Linked DNA regions of Homo sapiens: all the other regions are linked to region 2. The links are contacts of gene promoters, found by promoter capture Hi-C in human tissues and cell types (Jung and others, 2019). All regions are on one chromosome and are shown on one strand. Each heading gives the region's core, a stretch centred on a gene start or on the middle of the fragment in contact. The rest is flanking DNA. Distances are from core to core; before and after follow the strand shown.

Evidence for each region. The method cuts DNA at HindIII sites, captures the fragments that hold promoters and counts their contacts. A contact is called where the count stands out against the background at its distance.
Region 1: a contact is called between a fragment that was not itself captured here and the fragment with the promoter of UBR7 in region 2, in 2 of the 25 tissues and cell types used here (pancreas and stomach).
Region 3: a contact is called between a fragment that was not itself captured here and the fragment with the promoter of UBR7 in region 2, in 1 of the 25 tissues and cell types used here (hippocampus).

What each region holds. Positions count from the first base shown.
Region 1 is chr14:93,883,562-93,886,261 of GRCh38, reverse strand. It overlaps LOC105370631 (a long non-coding RNA gene), which reads right to left. Exons shown (of 3, transcript XR_944162.3): 2 at 1,742-1,906; 3 at 858-1,467. Among named protein-coding and RNA genes, the nearest start is that of FAM181A-AS1, 41 kb to the left of the region's middle. The HindIII fragment of the contact is 5,900 bases long and covers 1-2,700 here.
Region 2 is chr14:93,205,989-93,208,688 of GRCh38, reverse strand. It overlaps UBR7 (ubiquitin protein ligase E3 component n-recognin 7), which reads right to left and starts at 1,433. Exons shown (of 11, transcript NM_175748.4): 1 at 1,248-1,433. The coding sequence starts at 1,397. GON7 (GON7 subunit of KEOPS complex) reads left to right here and starts at 1,624. Exons shown (of 2, transcript NM_032490.5): 1 at 1,624-1,859. The coding sequence starts at 1,652. RefSeq lists an enhancer at 1,528-2,387. The HindIII fragment of the contact is 21,573 bases long and covers 1-2,700 here.
Region 3 is chr14:93,774,965-93,777,664 of GRCh38, reverse strand. All of the region lies in intron 3 of PRIMA1 (proline rich membrane anchor 1), which reads left to right. Among named protein-coding and RNA genes, the nearest start is that of PRIMA1, 12 kb to the left of the region's middle. The HindIII fragment of the contact is 7,093 bases long and covers 1-2,700 here.

The DNA of each region.
Region 1 (2,700 bases), core at 82-2,581, 680 kb before region 2:
CAAGGAAATGACACTACTATTAGAATGGCCAAAATCTGGAACATTGACATAACCAAACACTGTCAAGAAAACAGAGCAACAGGAACTCTCATTCATTTCTGGTGGAAATGCAAAATGGTACAGTCACGTTGGAAGACAGTTTCATTTGTTGTCTCTCTTGCAAAACTAAACATCGTCTTTGTTTATGTTTAGCTGAAACACATGATCCAGCAATTGTATTCCTAGGTAATTACCCAAATAAGGTAAAAAAATGTCCATGCAAAACCCTGCACATAAATGTTTATAGCAGCTTTATTCATAATTTCCCAAAACTAGAGGCAATCAAGATAGACTTCAAAAGGTGAATGAATAAACTGTGGTACATCTGTACAAGGGAATATTATTCAGCAATAAAAAAAATGAGCTGTCAAGCCAAGAAAAGACATGGAGGGATCTTAAATGCATATTACATTGTGAATAAGCCAGTGTGAAAAGGCTACATACTGTGTGATTCCAACTATATGACAAAACTATAAAAATATTGTCAAGGCTAGTGGTTGTCAGGAGTTTGGGGGTGACAGAAGGGAGGAAGGATGAATAGGTGGAAAGCAGGAATTTCAGGGCAATGGAACTATTCTGTATGCCACTCTGATGCAGATACATGCCATTAAGCATTCATCAAAGCCCCCGGAATCTGTACCCTCGCATAAACTATGGATTTTAGTTAATAATAATGCATCGAGATGGTTTCATCAATCTTAGCAAATGTACCCCACTAATGCAAGATGTTAATAATAGGGAAAACTGAGAGTGGGAGGGAGGGGGCCTATAGGAACTCTATCTACTGTCTCCTCAATTTTCTGTAAATCTAAAACTTTTCTGAAAAATAGAAGTCTATCTTTTAAAAATAAAAATAAAAATAAATAAAGCATGCATGTATATCTGTCTACTTCCTGGGGCAGCTGGAAGGCTATGTGAGATAATATATGACAAGCACTTGGTGGAGGACCTGGCTTATAAGAGGTGATCAACAAATGCCTGCTACTGTGGTTGTTGCAGTGGTTATTGGAGCTGTTGTGGTTATGATTGTGGCTGTTGTTAAAATTGCGTCAGGTTGCTGTGGTCTGTGGTTATTTTGGGAGCTGTAGCTGTGGTTGTTGGAGTTGGTGTGGTTATTGGGTTTGTTGTGATAATCACTGGAGTTGTGATCACTGCTGTGGTTGTAGGGTTAGGGTTGTATTTGCAGCTGTGGGGGATGTGTTGGCTGTTGTGGGTTTTGTTACAGTTGCTGGATTGTGTTTCTCATGGTGGTGGCAGTGCTTGACTTGTGTTGGTGGAATCATTGTGGAAGTTGGCATGGTGGTGGCTTGAGCTTCAACAGCCTGCAGAGGGCTGAGTCCGGATTCTCTTTCCCAGGTAAAGGTCTTGGTTAAACACTTTGGGGCTTGCAGAGTCTTCATAGAAGCTGAATTTCAAAGAGCTTCAGTTCTGTAAGATGATAAGATTTGGGGCAAAAATTAAGTGAGACAAAGACAGACATGAATGGAAGAAGCAGGAAATGAGGGAATGTGTCAGGAGTGAGGGTGGCTCCAGTGAGCCCTGGCGTGTGAGCCACCTCCACTGATCACTCGGCATTCATGGAAGTGGCACTCCAGAGTGTGACTCACCATTCGTAGAATTCTCTAGAAACGGATTCTTTTTTTCATAAGAAAGAACATATATTTTTTAAAATTAAGTGGAGAGAAGAACCAGCCATCCGTACCTCTGGAATGAGCTGGCCTCTGGAGAAACTTTGTCTCCTTCAGGGAACGGTGCGGGAGTTCTTTGCGATACATTTGTAGGAGAATCACTTGAACCCAGGAGGCGGAAGTTGTGGTGAGCCAAGATCGCACCATTGTACTCCAGCCTGGGCAACAGGAGCAAAACTCTGTCTCAAAAAAAAAAAAAAAAAAAAAAAAAAGAGAGAGAGAGACATGTTTTCTTTCTTTCATATGTGTCTGTGCCTAGGGATTTTCATGGTTGTGATTTTATACAATTGGGTACCTACTATTCACTTAACTTTATATTCTAAGTGTGCTTTCATGTAGGTACTTTTTTTATATATAATCATCATTTTCATAATAATTTAATGGTTAAAACCAGGAGTTGGCAAATCATGGCTTTTGGGGCAATAAATAAATCTTTATAAGTAAAGCTTTCTTGGAACATAGCTACACTCATTCACTTACACATTGCCTATGGCTGTTTCTTGCCACAATAGCAGGTTGAGTACATATTGCACACAGGCAATATGGTTCAATAAGCTGAACATATTTACTTATCTGGCCCTTTTCAGAAAACATTTGCCAACCCCTGTTTTAAATATGTTTTTGCCAAATAGCTTTTCAAAAGCTTCGTATGATGTTTTTGAGCATCAGGGTGTGATGGCTGATGCCTGTAAACCCAGCACTTTGGGAGGCCAAGGCAAAAGGATCACTTGAAACCAGGAGTTCAAGACCAGCCTGGGCAACATAGCAAGGCCACGTCTCTACAAAAAAAAAAAAAAAAAAAAAAAAAAAAAAAAAAAAGAATTGCATTAATTTACATTACTATCAATATTGTGAAAGGGTATCAATTGTTCTGCATCCAGGCCAGCATTTGGTGTTTGTTTTAATCTTTGCACATTTTTAAAATGAGACAAATAGTATCTTTTTTTCAATTTGAATTTCTCAAATTATTGGT
Region 2 (2,700 bases), core at 184-2,683:
AAGTTCTATTCCAATAAGCCTTTTGCACTCCTAATGTTCTATTTGTTGATCTGGGTTGTGGGAACACGCACACTTTCCTTTCAAGCTGTGTACATGATTTGTGCAAATTTCCGTATTTTTTTTTTTACCACAAAGAAAATATTAAGGAATCCATTTTATAAAGGTAACTACACTTCAAAAATAGTTTACATATAGACATAACTTTTTTCTTTTTTTTTTTTTTAAGTAAAGCAGGGGAAAAATTGTTTTAGTGGTGACCAAAGGTTTTAAAATACCTGGGGCTATGTCTGGATACCAGGTTTATTCAACAATCTAGCACTTTGCAGTGTAAACTAACCTTGGTCAACAACGAGAACTGGTATTATGATCTCAGTTCATACCACATAATGAATACAAGTCTCTCCCCTCATCTCCCCAGTGTTCCAATCCACCCCTCTTCCTAGGTAACCCTTCTTCCTACCAATTCTCATCCTTTGTCAGTCTTCTTCCTACCCATCCTTTTCCATTTTTGTACCTCGAAGTGTAGGGTGAGTCACTAAACACCACATCACACCCCCTCAAACACTTGCTCACTCACAACGTCTTCCAAATGCCAAACAGATCCTTTTCTCCTCTCTCCCCTCCCTTGCCAGAGCCACTTGCTGTTCTGTTTCCGGTCTATTTCCAGGGGAGGGGGGCAGACTGCAGATAGACATGGGTACTTGCTTCATTTTGCCAAAAAAAGAAAGAAAGAAAAAGTACTAGCTAGCACTTGTCCAACTAAATTGCAGAGGAACTAGCTGTCAAGGAGCTCACCGCAAATCCCTATGGATTTGAAAATCTCTTTAACCTGACTCTCCCATTCGGTCCCTAATAAATAAATAAATAAATAATCTTAGGATGGGAAAATCAGGGACAAAGATGTCTGGATCTGAGAGGTCGCGGGGTGGTTTCGTGAAAAGCAGTGGTGCACCAAGAAGAGGCTGGAGAGGACGGACAGAGCAGCTGCTCCAGGGCCCTTCCTGGCGGGCCGGACAGAGTTGGAGACAGGGGAGAGGGGGGCCCCTGCTGGACACAGGCTGAAGGGGGCCCAGGAGGTTGGGGTTAAAAGGGAAGGGTGAGCTTGGGGTGAGGAAGCGGCAGACTAACGGCGGCCCCGGACCACCACTGGGGAGACGACTGCGGCAAGGCGGGAATAGGGACAGCCGGGCCGGGAAGGGGAGGTTCGGCGGGAGCCGGGGGAGAGGAGGCCCGGGCCGCGCGCCCACCTGAGAGTAGGAGCACTTCTCGGAGTCGCTGCCGCCCAGGACAGCGCACGCCTCATTCTCCAGCTCCTCGTCCTCCTCAAGGACGTCGACCAACGATACCACGGGCTCCAGCTCCGACTGCCGCCCAGCGGCGCCCTCGGCTCCGGCCATCCTCAACTGTCAGCCGAACAGCGGCTCGGCCCCGGCGGAGGCGGGAAAAGCGGCCGTGAGGGGCGTAGCCGGAGGAGGTGGGGCCCGAGTGCCAGGAACCAATGACAAGGAAAAAAAGCGAAGGAAGGGGGAGGAGCGACTTCCGACAAACGGATGTCACTCCTCTCCCTTCTCCCGCCTGCGCCGGACGCGGGCTGATTTCCGCCTCCGGGTGGCGCTTCCCGGTGTCGTGTTCTGGAAGCTTAGCGGTCACCATGGAGCTGCTGGGAGAGTACGTCGGGCAGGAAGGGAAGCCGCAGAAGCTGCGGGTGTCCTGTGAGGCGCCGGGTGACGGCGACCCTTTCCAGGGCCTGTTGTCTGGCGTGGCCCAGATGAAGGACATGGTAACGGAATTATTCGACCCTCTGGTACAGGGGGAAGTGCAGCACCGGGTGGCGGCGGCTCCAGACGAGGACTTGGACGGTGAGCTCTGAGACGGTGCTGCAGTGACCGGAGGACGGGGCGGGCGCCCAGGGGAAATTGGCTTGGGGAGCCCGTGTAGAGTGGCAGACTTGGACAAAGTGAGCCTCGAGGAAAGAAGAATTGCATCTAAAAATTTTTGGCGGGCTAGGCGAAGTGGGGCTCACGCCTGTAATCCCAGCACTTTGGGAGGGCGAGGCAGGAGGATCACTTGAGGTCAGGAGTTCCAGAACAGCCAGGGCAACATATCGAGACCCCGTTTCTATTATTATTTTTAAAATAATTTAAAAAATAAAAATTGTTGGCATTTATCACTATATTTATTTGGGCTGCTTCTACTCAAGCGTTTCCACAACTCATCGCTATTTCGTTTATTTCACAAAAAAACGTGTCGAATGCCTACTATTATGTGCCAAACCCTGAGCTGAGCCCTGGAGGAAGAATGAGGTGAATGCGACTCAGTTCCTGCCCTTGTGAAACACAAGGGGACTAGACAGGCAGACACTCTTATTAAAAGTGGAAGTGGTCCGGGCTGGTGGCTCACGCCTGTAATCCCTGCACTTTGGGAGACCGAGGCAGGCAGATCACGAGGTCAGGAGTTCGAGACAAGCCTGGCCAATATGGTGAAACCCTGTCTCTACTAAAAATACAAAAATTAGCTGGGCGTGGTGGCATGCTCCTGTAGTCCCAGCTACTCTACTCGGGAGGCTGAGGCAGAAGAATCGCTTGAACCCTGGAGGCAGAGGGTGCAGTGAGCCGAGATCGCGCCACTGCACTCTATCGTGGGCGACAGAGCGAGACTCCGTCTCAAAAAAAAAGAAAAAAAAAGTGAAAGTGGTTCTGT
Region 3 (2,700 bases), core at 56-2,555, 570 kb before region 2:
AACAGGGGTCTTTAAGAATAAATGGGATTGGTCGGGCACAGTGGCTCATGCCTGTAATCCCAGCACTTTGGGAGGCTGAGGTGGGTGGATCATGAGGTCAGGAGTTCGAGACCAGCCTGGCCAACATGGTGAAACCCCGTCTCTACTAAAAATATAAAAATTAGCCAGGCGTTGGTGGCAGGCGCCTGTAATCCCAGCTGCTCCGGAGGCTGAGGCAGGAGAATTGCTTGAACCCGGGAGGCGGAGGTTGCAGTGAACCAAGATTGCGCCACTGCACTCCAGCCTGGGCCACAGAGTGAGACTCCGTCTCAAAAAAAAAGAATGAATGGGATTGTTCCAGGTTGCTAATCAGGTTGGGGGAAAAGGGCATCCAGGCAGAAGGAAGCGCATGGACAAAGGCTTGGAGGTATGGCTCTGTGAGACTCCTCTTGAGAGTCACAAGCCCTTCAGTGGCTTGAAAGGGTGGCCAAGGAGGAGGACCTAGAAGGGCCTCGTGTGCCTGGCTGAGCAGATCGCATTTCATCCTATGGGTCATTGTTTACCAAACAATGATCTACATTCACGCATATCCAAGTACCATCTCTTATTTGCCTTATTTTTTTCTTTAAATAAACTCATTTTGTGTGTATACAAATTAATCTCCTTAACTTTACAAAACTACTCTAAATGAGAAACTAGTTCCACTTGCATAAATGGAAGGTGACCATAATAATAAATGCAGTGGAAGCAAACCAAGCTTTTAAAATTCCAGCTTTCTCTGGAAGATTCTGAGCTTGAGACTTTCTCTCTATTTGTTAAAAAGGGAGAGAAGTAAGCGGTAGAGAGATGTGAAAGCCATAGTGGCACAGTGCTGAGACCTTCTCTATAAAGTAATTGGAAAGTTTGTAAGTGAATCAAAAGGAGCTTAAGTTTCTTATTACAGGTTTCAATGTGTTTGAGTGCTGGGTCCATATACCATCTAAAATCAGCTCTCATAACTGCAGGGACATGGACCCAGTGCTTTAGGAAACTGCTCTGGGCAGTGATGAGCCTACGAAGGTGTTAAGTGGGGAAGTGACATGAGCCTATATTGTCTGTTTCAGAAAGATCAACTGTTTTGACAGTGTGGGTTGGATTGGAGTGGATTGGGGTTGAGCTGGCAGACTGGAGTCAGGTGGGGGTCTCTTGAGATCATTCAGACCCCAGACCATCCAAGAGGGCCTGAAACCAGGCTGGGGGCTACGGAGATGGGAGGAGGCTAGAGGAGAGTGCTTGGTTGAGTACAGAGAGAACTCATGTTGAGTTTTGGGACTGAAGGTGCTTCTTGGGAGAGGAGAGTAAGAGAGGAGAGCTCTGTATGGCAGGACTTTTTCTGTTTCAAGTAGCAAAAACACATCTTGAAGTGGTTTAAGCAATACAAAAACTAGGGAGAAAGATGTTAGCTTGTGGGCTCACGTATCAGGATATCCAGGCAGCAGATCTGCTGAATCCATGGTCTCAAATGATGACGGTATTGGATTTCTGTCTCTGGCTCTGTCGCTCTCTCCTGATTTCTCCTGGGTTGCCTTTTCTCTCAGGCTGGCTCAGTTCCTGTAGCTCCAGGCTCCAGCATTCCATCATTCTTACAGGCAGTAATATCCCTAGGAAGAGACCTTCTGTTTCCCAGTAGTCCGAGGGAAGTCCTGAGGCTGACTTTTGCTGGACTAGCTTGGGTCATGTGCCCACCTGTGGACCAATCATGGTGGCTTATGGGATAGAGTATGCTGGTTGGTCAGGCCCGGGCCATGTGACCACCCCTGGAGTTGGGATGTGTGGATAGAGGCTCAGGGAGAGGTGGTTTCCCAAAGGAAAATCCGAATAGAAGGGCTAAAACCCAAAAATAAGAACATGGCTACCAGGCCAGGAGGGCAGGGAATGTCTATCATAGCCATGGAGTGCCTCCGGCATGGAAGGTGGATTAGACCAGTGGTGGAGAATGTGATTTATTCATTCTCTTGGTCCTCCTTGAGCTCAGCCCAGAACCCTGCACACAAGTAGTGCCCAATAAATGTCAGAGCTACGGCCACATCCACAACTTCTGCCAATCATAAAATACGGAGGCGGAGGTTGCAGTGAGCCAAGATTGCACCATTGCACTCCAGCCTGGGCAATAAGAGCGTAACTCTGCCTCAAAAACAACAACAACAGCAAAAAACAACAAAACAAACAAAAAAAACAAGTGCCTGCTATATAACCCTGAAGGAATTCATGTCTCCCAGAGGGCACAGGGCTTCAATGCTGTGGAGCCTCAGCTCTCACTCAACAGGTGCACACTGAGCTCCAAATGTGGGGCATGGTGCCAGGGCCCGGGAACCAGCAGTGAGCAGCAGACAGCTCCTGCCCTCATGGAGTTCACAGTCCAGTGGACTGTCATTTGCAGAAGGTGTTCACTGGAGTGTCCCTTCCTGCCATCTCTCTGGATTCACTGGCTCAAGGCATGTGCCAGTCCTTGTCCCATTTGCTCATCTGATGTCCTTTGCATTCTTGCCACTCACAAGGGCCTCTCATTCACCTGGCGAGCATTTGCCAGGCACCTGTTCTAGGTCCAACCCTGCGTTGGGCATCCTGAGGGATACAGAGTCACACAGGGACTTATCCACATCAGCAGGGCCCAGGTCATGAAAGGCCAAGGACTTGGCATAAGAGGCCGATTCCATGAGCCTTTCTTTAGCCTATGTTGGC